4 separate regions of the Homo sapiens genome follow, and regions 2, 3 and 4 are each linked to region 1. Evidence: promoter capture Hi-C in human tissues and cell types (Jung and others, 2019). All regions are on one chromosome and are shown on one strand. Each heading gives the region's core, a stretch centred on a gene start or on the middle of the fragment in contact. The rest is flanking DNA. Distances are from core to core; before and after follow the strand shown. Region 1 holds the start of FARP1 (FERM, ARH/RhoGEF and pleckstrin domain protein 1). Region 2 overlaps STK24 (serine/threonine kinase 24). Region 3 has its middle 110 kb from the start of IPO5. Region 4 has its middle 85 kb from the start of IPO5.

The links. Contacts are between HindIII fragments. The study calls those that stand out against the background at their distance.
Region 2: a fragment that was not itself captured here is called in contact with the fragment with the promoter of FARP1 in region 1 in 3 of the 25 tissues and cell types used here (dorsolateral prefrontal cortex, lymphoblastoid cells and mesenchymal stem cells).
Region 3: a fragment that was not itself captured here is called in contact with the fragment with the promoter of FARP1 in region 1 in 1 of the 25 tissues and cell types used here (hippocampus).
Region 4: a contact is called between a fragment that was not itself captured here and the fragment with the promoter of FARP1 in region 1, in 1 of the 25 tissues and cell types used here (dorsolateral prefrontal cortex).

What each region holds. Positions count from the first base shown.
Region 1 is chr13:98,141,703-98,144,627 of GRCh38, forward strand. It overlaps FARP1 (FERM, ARH/RhoGEF and pleckstrin domain protein 1), which reads left to right and starts at 1,392. Exons shown (of 27, transcript NM_005766.4): 1 at 1,392-1,790. LOC105370328 (a long non-coding RNA gene) reads right to left here and starts at 2,208. Exons shown (of 3, transcript XR_931670.4): 1 at 2,137-2,208. RefSeq lists silencers at 843-892, 1,133-1,442. The HindIII fragment of the contact is 5,274 bases long and covers 1-2,925 here.
Region 2 is chr13:98,464,544-98,467,468 of GRCh38, forward strand. STK24 (serine/threonine kinase 24) reads right to left here. Exons shown (of 11, transcript NM_001032296.4): 6 at 1,833-2,018. Among named protein-coding and RNA genes, the nearest start is that of FARP1-AS1, 30 kb to the left of the region's middle. The HindIII fragment of the contact is 4,204 bases long and covers 1-2,925 here.
Region 3 is chr13:97,839,656-97,842,580 of GRCh38, forward strand. No RefSeq gene overlaps it. Among named protein-coding and RNA genes, the nearest start is that of IPO5, 110 kb to the right of the region's middle. The HindIII fragment of the contact is 3,919 bases long and covers 1-2,925 here.
Region 4 is chr13:97,867,636-97,870,560 of GRCh38, forward strand. No RefSeq gene overlaps it. Among named protein-coding and RNA genes, the nearest start is that of IPO5, 85 kb to the right of the region's middle. The HindIII fragment of the contact is 6,591 bases long and covers 1-2,925 here.

The DNA of each region.
Region 1 (2,925 bases), core at 142-2,641:
TATCCCTGCAGGCGATTCAGATGCTTGCTAAGGTTTCATTAGGTAGGTCGGGGATGCGGCCCAAGAATGTTCATTTCTTGACGTTTCCAGGGGCTGCTGGTGGTGGTCGTGGTCTGAGAACCACACTTAGAGAATCACGAGCAGAAAAAAATCTGATCTGTGACACACAGCTGGTTGGGCTGACAGAGCAAAGCCTCAAACCCACCATTTCTTCTCTTCAACCACAGACCACCAAATCTGCAAGTATTACATCTCTGCTCCTCCCCAGGAGCTGCCCACAAGCACCCCCTACTTCCAAGACCCCTGTTCTTGTCTCAACCCGCCCTTCTATCAGGGTCCCTACACTCCACTTCTGCCCAGCTCCTGTCCAGCTGTGAGTTCACTTGAGGCCTCTCCCGTGAAATCTGCCCTCTCGGTCTGAGGTCAGGGAACTCCTGTAAGACGCAAAAGGCCCACGGTTCTGAGCCAGTGGCCTCCGAAGGCCGGAATCCGCTAGCCCCGGGTCTGGCAGAACGTCACTTGCTGCGCCCTAGGCCTCTTCCCGCCACGCTTAGAGAGAGGGACTGGAGGCTCAGAAGGGGGAAGAGAAGGTAACGCGGCAGCTGCTGGGTGGGGACGGTGACTGTGCCCCTAGATCGCTGCCTCCTGGGTCCTGAATCTTGCTCCCCGCTCCGTAGAGTTCCCGAAACCCCGAAGGCTCTCAAGCACCGCAAGCCACTCCTAACCTCCCCCACGCCATTCCCCAAGGGCACTGTCCCCCGAGGCTGGGCGGGCGGGAACTGTCATGGGATTCGCTCGGGCGGAGGGCGCTGGGCCAGGACGTGGGCGGGCGCGGGGTGGCCGCCGCTCCCCCAAGCTTAAGTCCCGCGCAGCCCGGGGTGGTGCCGGAAGCCCGTGCCTGTGGCTCCGGGGGAGGGGAGGGCTCGGTGGGTCCCTGAAGACTGTCCTCCCCGCGCGACGTCGCAGGCGAAGCAGCCCCAGGCAGGACCTCAAAAAGCGACCTGCAGAGTCCGAGCCCCTGACCGCCCGCCTGCCGCTCCCGGCTTCGCCGTGCACACGTCTCCCGCTCTCCCCGGTTCGTTTTTCGCCACAGCTGCTGGATTCGCGTCTCGCCAGTGGCGCTCCCCGCGCTGCATTAGGTAGCGCCGCGCGGAGCCCGGCCCTGGCCGGAAGCCCAAGAGAGGCGCAGATCCCCGGCGGCGCGCTGGGCTCGGGAGGCCCCTGGGCGCACCTGCCCGGGCGGAGCGGAGCGGGGCGGGGCGGGCGCAGGGCGCGGGCCCGGACGCTGGAGGGGGCTGTGGCTCTCCCGCGTCCCCGCTGCTCGGGCTGCGCGGCGCCCGCCTCCCCCCGCCGAGGGGCCGGCCCAGACCCGGGGAGGGGCGGTGGCCACTGCACTTCCCGCTCGCCGGCCTCAGAGGCGGCGGGTCCGGCGCGGGCGCAGCGGTGCGGGCGCTCGGCTGGGGCGCGGGGCGGGGACGCGGCCGCTGCCCGCTTTGCGCCGCTCCTCCCTGCGCGAGTAGCGCTGGCCCCGGCGTCGAGGCGGCCATGGCGACCCGGAGCCCGCTCCCCACCCACCCCGCCTGCTCCGCCCTCCCCTCCGCCCCGCGCCACCTTTGATGGCTCGGACCTCAGCCGGCCACCGCCAGCCCTGCTCGCGCGCCCGCGCCGCCGCCGCCCGCGGGTATTAATAGCCGGCGCCGCCGCGCCCTCGGCCGCCGGGGGCTTGGGAGCCGCCGATCCCGGAGCCCGAGCCGGGAGAGGGAGCCGCCGCAGCCGCCGGCGCTGTGGAGGTAGGAGGCGCGCGGTGAACAATGACCGCGGCGGGAGGGCGGGGGCCGGCGGGGTCCGGGCCGCGGGCGGCAACTTGTGCGAGTCCAGGCTCCCGCAGCGCACGGCCGCGGCTGCGGGCGAAGGTGGGCGCGTGGTCCCCGAGGTCCTGCCCTGCGCAGTCGGGCGGCGGGTCGGGCCCGGGCAGCCCCGGCCACCATCGCAGGAGCTCGGGGGCCTCGGGGCTCCGGGCTGCCCCCTGCGCCCCTCTCCCCTCACCTCCGCCGACGTCGGGCTGCGGGGCTCCGCGCCGGTCCCCGCTCGCCTCCCCCGACCCCGGCGCCCTTCCCCCGTTTCCTTCCGTCCTACCCGCCCGCTGACAGCGCTGGACGCCGCTTCCGGACCTCGGGCCGCAATCTCGGCCCCTGAGGCCGGTTGCGGGCCGGGGAGGTGGCCGCTGGCGCGGATGCCGCCGGGTGCCCGCCGCTCGCCCACGCGCGGCGCGAGGGTTCCCGGCGGGTGACAAAGAGGAACACACCCTCTGCCCAAGTTAGATTTGTGTCTCTCTTTACTGTCTGCCTTTATGCAGGGCAAAGTTTTTTTTATTTTTTATTTTTTAAAGCAAAGGACAGATTGCTTTGCGGCGAGTATTTCCAAACAACTTCTGATTGTGGTTTTACGATTCAAGTTCCGGAAACTTTAGCTGTGTGATCCGGCTGGACCCCGGAGACTCTGTGTGTGTGTGTGTGTGTGTGTGTTTTATTTGAGGGGGGGAAATACGAATTCCCTGTAATGAGTCTGGATCTCGTTTGTGGCAGCTGGAGGCCAGCGGCTGTTGGGGATCGAGTAGGGTTCCCCAGAAAGGAGGGAGCTGAGGCTCACAAAGAAGCGAGGCCCTGGTATCTGATCAGTTCGTGGAGACGTGGGAGAGCCTGCTTGTCATCTGGAACAGTTTAGCAGCCTCGGCCTCCCTGTCTCTCCCAGCCCTGGGGAGTACCGGTGGCCTCTGGCCGTTTCATTATATTGTTGTTAAGGCTCTTCTCCTTGTCAGTTTACCAGGTTTGACCGCCCAGCCCTGGTCTCTGCGTGGAAACCCCCGGGGGCCCCTCTCCTTCCAGTAGGCAACATCTTCAGAGCCAAACCCTGGCCTAGCACTGG
Region 2 (2,925 bases), core at 169-2,668, 320 kb after region 1:
TGGAGTGCAGTGGCACGATTTCGGCTCACTACAACCTCGCCTCCCCAGTTCAAACGATTCTCCTGCCTCAGCCTCCTGGGTAGCTGGGATTACAGGCCTGCACCACCACACCAGGCTAATTTTTTGTATTTTTAGTAGAAACGGGATTTCACCATGTTAGCCAGGCTGGTCTTGAACTCCTGACCTCAGGTGATGCACCTGCCTCGGCCTCCCAAAGTGCTGGGATTACAGATGTGAGCCACCATGCTGGGCTGCTTTGTTAACTTTCTGTATTAACGTTTGGCCACATCCAACCATATAATAGAAATGTCAATTTGGAATTATCTCAGAGAAACTGGAAAGGAGCCAGGAGATCCCCTTTTTCCTGTCTGCTGAAAGAGCAACTGGATGCGCTTCACCACCAACTTTCCCGGTTTAGAAGGGCTATTTCCCAGGTCCCTCCCTCCCTTCCCTTGTGATTGGGCTGAGGACTTCACCCATGCCCTGGGCTCAGCATGGCCACCGCAAGCAGCACCTGGTCAGCTGCCTGCCTTGAGGATGGCGATAGTGACAGGGAATGTGCTTCCCAAGGAAACCAGCATGGCCCAAATGGGAACAGACAGCAGGAACACCCAAACACCGAGTCGAACCAAGTTCCCACTCACTCCAAATTACAAAAGCTTGATTACAAGAGCCAAGCATGTTTTCAGATTCAAACTCATGAGAAACGTGGATCACCTCAAGTATTCTCCCTCCCTGTCCATCCAAGGGTGAAACCCCAACTACCCCGGAGGTGCTCATATTCTCGCCTCTCAGCCAGCTCCTCGGTAGCTGTGGGGTGGAGCTCTGTGTGCTGGGGCATAAGCCCATACAGGACACATGCTTTGTATGGGAAGACATGCCTGCACACATCTCCACTGGTGCTGGTGCATGATGGCTGCAAGAAACATCATCGTGTAATAAAATGCAGAGCATCGTGGCATGCAGGACAAGCCCCACCACCACCCGATGCTGATGTAGTCATCAAACACTGGTGTGGTGGTCTCAGCCTGCATCTCCTTAGACGTACTTAGAAAATGTTGCATTACCCATTTAATTCCTTTACCAGAACTGGCATATTAGGAAACCATGGTGCTCTTGTAAAAGTAACCACCCATTTTTACATAAGAGTTAAGAAAAGGGGGGCTCAGCTTAGCCTTCAGCTAACTCTGCTGGAAAACTCAGAAACAAAACAAGGACATATGGTGCTACCTCCAACACCAACACACACACACTACTTTCAAAGAAATGTCCTAATTCAGACAGAAAATGAGGCAAAGCCACACAGTCGTTACTGCTGTATGGCTCTGCCAGAGTCTATTAAACCTAAAAAGAGAAAGTAGGCAGGAAGGGGAGGGGAAGAAGCACAGAGGGTGGCTTGGTTATATTTTCTAATCTTTTGTTTCCTAACACATGCCACCTGGAAAGTGAAAACATTTACTTTAAAGACATATTTAGCCATTTGTTTCCAGCTAACCTTTGCCATTATTAAAAACAGTGTAACAGTTTATGGCCTGATCTTCTATAAATATTAAACATTTATGATTCCACATTTAATATTAAGGAGAATATTCTTCAGATTCAATGAAGTATGAGATGGCAGAAATCTAAAAGAAAATAAGGAGATTTTTAATACTTAAAAATTAAAATGTATTTGCAAACCAAAGAAGTCAATCATACTTACTTAGAAAAAGAAAAATGAATAATACCAGGAAGACAGCTGAAAAGAGTGATTAAAGCAATCCCAACAGGATGTATCTCAACCAAGTCAAGCCGCACATGAAGAGGTACGCTGTGATCCCTGGGAAACTTACAAAGCTCGGCTCCTTATTCAAACAGGCCTCCACAAACTCCTTGAGGGGTTTACTGTAGTTTCCTTCCAACGTCGGTGGGTTGTTCTTTGGAATGAGGAATAAAACTTTCATGGGGTGCAGCTCGGAATGAGGTGGTTCCCCTCTTGCAAGTTCAATAGCTGTTATGCCCAGGGACCAGATGTCTGCCTGCAACAAGAAAAGCATCTTTACAAACACCAAGCAGGAATCTATTCCAATACACAGTATTTAGGGGGAAAATGGTAACATGTCTCAATACTTCTGAGGTTTTGAAAAAGGTATTTTTAACTGATATTTAAAAACATAAGCCCTCGCTGTAATTTCAAAAGAGACAACAGGAGAAACTGTAATATGCCAAATGTTTTCTGCCTCTACATGGAGATGGCTTATCAATTCACTCCTACTACGCCTCCTGCTGGATGCATTCGGCATTCCCCGTGGAGTCCCGGGGGCCAGCAGGACCAGTAAGAGAGGTGAGCAGAGAGGAGGAGTCCGGAGTGGGTGTACGCTCGCGAGTCACCCCCTCCAGCAGTGCTTAGAACTTAGGGCACAGCTCTGAGGTCGAGAGTGGGCACCTTGGTCTCAAGATACCTGGGTTGAAATGCCAGTTCTACAGTCAAAGTCCTGTGACGTTAGATGAAAGAGCTAACCTCTGAGCCCTGTTTCTCTCATCTGTAGAATGGAGGTGGAAGAGGAGGAGGTGGCCATGTAAGGTGCCTTACCAGGGGCCCAGAACTTAAAAAAGTTTATTATGAAAATGTTCAAACATACAAAGAACTGAGAAATATTAATATAATGCATCCTCATCTACCTATTGCATGAATTTACTAATTAACATTTTGCCATACGAGCTTTGTCCATGTGTTCCCCGAGTATATTTTAAAATCAATCAGTCATCATGACATTTTCCCCCGAGTATTTCCGTGTGCCAATATACAGACTTTTTACTACCTATCAGTGCCTGAAATTAACACGAATTCCTTAATGTCATGTATAATTAAATGTTCTCAGCTGTTCAAAAACTGTCATTCCATGGTTGGTTTATCTGAATCAGGATCCAAAGTCCACGGGGTAC
Region 3 (2,925 bases), core at 319-2,818, 300 kb before region 1:
GTTTAAATCTACCATCTTAATGCTTGTTTGCTATTGGTTACCTCTGATTTTGCTCCATTTTTCTTCTTTGTCTATCTTCTTTTAGATTGAATATTTATGATTTATTTTATCTGATTCCTTATTAATTATATATTTCAATTTTGTTCTTTTTGGTGATTGCATTGGGGTTTACACTATCCATCTTTAGCTTATCACAGTTTACCTTCAAGTAACATTAGTTCACATAATGTGTAAGGACCTTACACTAACATAGTCACATTTTCCCCTCTTTCAGTCTTTGTGCTGTTTTTGTCACATATTTTGCTTCTACATATTTTTATCCCTTTATATTGTTATGATTCTTGCCAATATTCAAACATCTGTCTGAGTTCATATTCACTGGAGTCCAAATGAAGCACCTGAACAGGTTTTAATGAGAGATGAAGATAGGAAGAAAGCTTGACAGCTAGGTGAATAAACACCACACCAAGGAATAAACAGGGCAAAAGGAGACTTTTCCTATTTTAAGCTTTTGGGAAAGCAAGCTTAGCCAAATGCTAACTATTTGAGAAAACTCATCTGTTTCCCCTTTAGACTGCCCAGATTTAAAACGCTGGACAGTACACTTACAGCATTAACCTTTGCATTTTAAAGCTACAAGAATAAGGCAAGGTGAAGAGAATATAAGATCATAGCTTTATTATGAACTAGTTAGTTAACTAGTTAGCTTGAAAATCAGCTGATTTTAAGAAGCAGGTAAGCCACTGATGTGACACATTAGCCAAACAAGTAGTTAATTGAATGTGTATTCTTCTTTCATTTTTTCAGATCTTATGTTTAATGTCATATAGGTCTATTACTTTCAGAGACCAGACCAAATTTATAATAGAAATGTAACAAAGTTAAAAATAAATGAAAGTTTACCAAATGTGATCCTATAAACAGAATTGTTTATTCTTCAGGAAATTTTACAATAAACTCCTTGAGCTATAAGACAGAAATTTGCAAAGAGATTCAATAAATATAAAGCCTCCTCTCTCTTACCGTCCTTTATACCCACTCCTACCCTTCCATTTGTCTGGACTCCAAAACGCAGAACAGGAAGAGATTGGAGATCCACCAACTCCACGATCTTGGCAAGACTTCAGCAGCCATAGGGTCCAGGCTTAAGTACCCATGTTCCCGAATCTTGATGACATCTTAACACTTCAAGAATTTTTGGCATAAAGGAGCTATTGTAAGTAGAAAGTCTTGGAAATATTATTCTACAAAAATTTGTTTACCACAAAGTTAAAAGTTTTCTGTAGATCACCTCATTTCTGTGAGGAGAAATATTTTCTAGTGCACAGATTTCTAATAAGCTTCAGTGTCTTTTCCACTCCCTTCTCACTCCCCTCTCCTTTTCTCCCCTTCTCTATTTCTCTCTATGTCTCTTTATTTCCTACTTCTCTTCTTTAAATAGAATAGTGGTTAGGAATACAGACACTGGATCCAATTCTCCGAGTTCAAATCCTAATATTGTCACTTATCAGTAGAGTGACTTTGGCCACCTAACTTCTCTACTTCTCTGTGCCTCAATTTTCTCATCTCCAAAAGTGAGGATAATTGTTCCTACCTCATTAGAATGTTAAGAATATTAAATATATAACATATTTTAATATTTAATATATAAATATATTAAAACATTTAAAACAAGCCCTGACAGTAAATTCTCCATGATTAGCTATGATGATTATTATTAGTGATAATAATCTTTATCATTATTTAAGTGAGAAATATTTACTCCCCTGGAAGGCTGTGGGAGAGAAACCACCAAGTTTCTCTGCATTGCTCTCCCACTCAGCTTCCATTCTGACCACTTACAGGTGTCATAAGTTTTGGGTCCCCCACAAGAGACACTCTCTGAGCAACCTTAAGCCTCCAAGAACAGAGCAGAGGCAAGAACCAGCTTGTCAAGACTGTGCACGGAAGAATGGACCCAGATTTGCAGCAAACATTTTATATCATCTTATACAGTCACTTTATTTCTCCAATTTTTTTTTTTTTTTTTTTTTTGTGACGGAGTCTAGCTCTGTCACCCAGGCTGGAGTGCAGTGGCGCGATCTCGGCGCACTGCAAGCTCCATCTCCCGGGTTCACACCATTCTCCTGCCTCAGCCTCCCGAGTAGCTGGGACTACAGGCGCCCGCCACCACACCCAGCTAATTTTTTTGTATTTTTAGTAGAGACAGGGTTTCACCGTGTTAGCCAGGACGGTCTCGATCTCCTGACCTCATGATCTGCCCGCCTCAGCTTCCCAAAGTGCTGGGATTACAGGCGTGAGCCACCACACCCAGCCTATTTCTCCAATTTTCAAACTTCCTTATCCATGACATGAAGCGTTTGGAATAAAATTATCCCTAAATTCCACCCCGCACCATGCTACCTCAAATTCCATAATCTATTCCATGTATACAGGTTTCTTCATATTTGCAAAATACAGAATACATGGGGCATTGAGAAGTGATTAATTCTGACTTGGTTGGGGAGTTGGCAGGAGAGGTGAGCCTCCCACCTTCCTGTGGGCAAGCTCACATGGGTTACAACCTATTGAGCTCCTGACAACTCAACCGCACCCACCAAGAGGAAAGCGCAGCAAGTGCACCGTGGGTTTGCTGGGGCAGCAGGGGCCTTTCCATGCAACGCTCCTTCCAGCTGTCTTACAAGAAGAAATACCAGGAGCACATCACAGCACTAGAAAATAAGGGTGCCCCCTGTCCCCACTACAATTATATGTACGCCTCTTTCTATTTTCCTCTTCCTCAACGCTCATTTCCCTTTCTCTTTTTTCTGCCTCTCCTCAGCATTGCTTCCCACTGCTGCTGACATTTAGGACTGAAAGGCTGCAGCCACTGTGGTCGATAAACATCTGTCCACCCAGCCTTTCTTTCTCATTTGATGGGCATGT
Region 4 (2,925 bases), core at 266-2,765, 270 kb before region 1:
CAAACACCAGGGGAAGATCATCTTCCCACTCCATCCCCTTTCCAGCTCCCCATCCATCCCACTAAGAGCCACCTCCATCACTCAATAAAGTCCCTGCATTCACCATCCTGGAAGTCCATGTGACCTGATTCTACCTGGACACCAGACAAGGAGCCAGGTACCAGGAGGGCAGGGTGTAAAAGGTAGTCACCTGACTCTCCACTGAGCTGTTTTAACACTTAGCCATTCACAGACAGCAACTGCTAAAAGAGCATTAATTGTAACACACCCCTAGACGCTACAATGGGGCCAGAGGCCAAAAGCACTCGTCCCAGCTCCTGCACCTGCCCATGTGTGTGCTCCCCCTCCATAAGGGGTTTGAGTGCAAGAGCAAACAAGCCCACACCCCTGTCACAAGTCCCTCGAGGGGGTCAGGGAACTCTCCAATTTCAATAGTCCTGGAATCCCAGAGGCCTCTGCTGATAATGTCAGAGCACACATCCCAGTCTGTCTTCACATCCAGAGTTTAACTCTAGGAGGAAGGAAGTCCTGGAAGCTTGTCATGTTGGGAAACAAGGGGTGAAGGGAATAATAGACAGCAGTAGTGATTCCCAAGCTGAGGTAGCAGCTTTTACAAATCCCTGAGCCAGGAAGAAACTTAATCAGATTGGAGAATGATTAGTACCACAGTTCTGCATCGTTAGAGTACCATAGAATGGAGGAGTTGGCCATGGGACAAGGCAGAAGATTAAAGAAACAGGCAGAGGCTGCATTTTATTTTAAGGCAATTGTTCTCCCACTAATTTAATGTGCATCAGAATTACCTGGAGGACTTGTTAAAACTCAGGGGGCTGGGGCCTACTTTACTCCCAGAATCTGATTCAGTAGATCTAGACAGGGCATGAGAACAATATTTATAACAAGTTTTCGGGTGCTGCTGATGCCACTGGTCCAGGAAACACACTGAAAATCGCTGCTCTAAGGGGCTCCTACAGTATCCTGAAGGCTTGCAAATGGAAAGAAGTAGAGGCTCCAGGAGCTGTGATGGAAAGGTCTTGAAGAGCGTTTTGAATCTGTAGAGGGCAAGGTCATGACTGAGCACCAGGAGGGTGTGGGGGAGTTTGAGGAGGGCAAAGGCATTCGGAAACAGGTGCTGGGTTCATAGCAGGGGCGGCTGGGTAGTTTTAAGGTGTAGATGAAGTTGGAGATGATACATGTGTAATGGCAAACTGTTATCAGTTGTCTGACTTTCCCCAGCAGGAGTAGGAGGTGCAAGGGTAAGAAAGGAGAAGGGGAATAGTGGTTTAGATCCAGGATTAGAGTTTTCTTGATGGCTAAATATAAAGAAAGGGGAGATGGCCGGGCACAGTGGCTCACACCCGTAATCCCGCACTTTGGGAGGCCGAGGCAGGCGGATCACGAGGTCAAGAAATCGAAACTGTCCTGGCCAGGATGGTGAAACCCCATCTCTACTAAAAATACAAAAATTAGCCAGGCGTGGTGGCACGCGCCTGTAGTCCCAGCTACTCAGGAGGCTGAGGCAGGAGAATTGCTTGAACCCAAGAGGCGGAGGTTGCAGTGAGCCGAAATCACGCCACTACACTCCAGCCTGGGCGACAGAGTGAGACTCAGTCTCAAAAGAAGAAAAAAAAAGAAAGAAAGGGGAGACAAAACAAGTTGGAATGTTGGAGTGTGGTGTTTGAGCTACTTAGGAAAAGACATTACTACCGGTGGGTTCTGATAGACTGATGGGAAATTAGGGCCTGGAAGTGTAGATGAGATCAAAGAAAAGGTGTTGTGGTTGCAAAGGAGGGAGAGCATTGGAAGGATAAGTTGTGGATCAGAATGACAGGTTAGGACCAAGATTCCAGGGGTAGAGAAGTTTCAGGCCAGGCAGGGGCAAATGGATGGGCTCCCAGGGGTTTGCAAACCCCTTGCAACTTTTGGGGAAATATCAAGTGAGGTCTGAAAGATCATTTTCTCCCTGAGAGAGGATTCATAACCTCAAAAGTGTTTCTGAGCCATAACTGACTGAGACTCAGTGGCCGTGTGTATCCCCAGAAGAGGGTGACAGAACTGGAGTTGAGGTGAAGGCCCCCGGGTTTGAGGGGGCTGGAGAACCGTGGAGCAGGACTTCTGGTGGGCAGAAGACAATAAGACAAGAACCAAAGTCCACCTGCAAGTAGACACATTACAGAGATCAGAGAGGTGGTTGTGACAGTCACTGAGGATGGCAGTTATCAAAGTATCTTGCAAACAGTAAAGCATTTCTAAATCCATAAAGGTTATTTTTTATTATTATAATAACTTATTTTCTGACTACTAAAATAAAAATTCCCCCTTTGGAATTTTTTAAAATACAGAACTGTAAAAAAGATAACTAAAAATTATGTAACTGCTCAAATTAAGTGATCACTGTGAATTATAGCAGATTTAGGGTAAAATGACTATGAGTGATGACAGCCGTACTGCCTTTCACATGTGATGCTCGGACCTGGAAAACCAACAGCCAGACCAAAGCAGCTCAAAGTAGCTAAGCCCTCTGGGTTGGGCTCTCTGTTCATGCCCAGGAGCCACTCGAGCTCACTCCTCCAGCAAGAGAGGCTTCTGTTTGACAAGAACATTCATTTCTATTACAGAATTATAAATACAAAGAGTGAAAAAATAGTGCCTATCAGTCTCCAACACATCAGAGTTGTCAATTAAACAGATTTCATCCTAGTTCTGGTCTTTAATTGCTGACATTTTAAATTTTGCATTATATTTCTGTGCCCACCCCATAATCTCACTTATCGTTAAAAAATTAATTTATTATAAAAGTCCTGTTTTCCAGCACAATGGAGACTAGTCATTGGTTGGTTTGTTAAGGTGGAAAATAATTATCTTTTTTTTTTTTGAGATGGAGTTTCACTCTTGTTGCCCAAGCTGGAGTGCAATGGCACGATC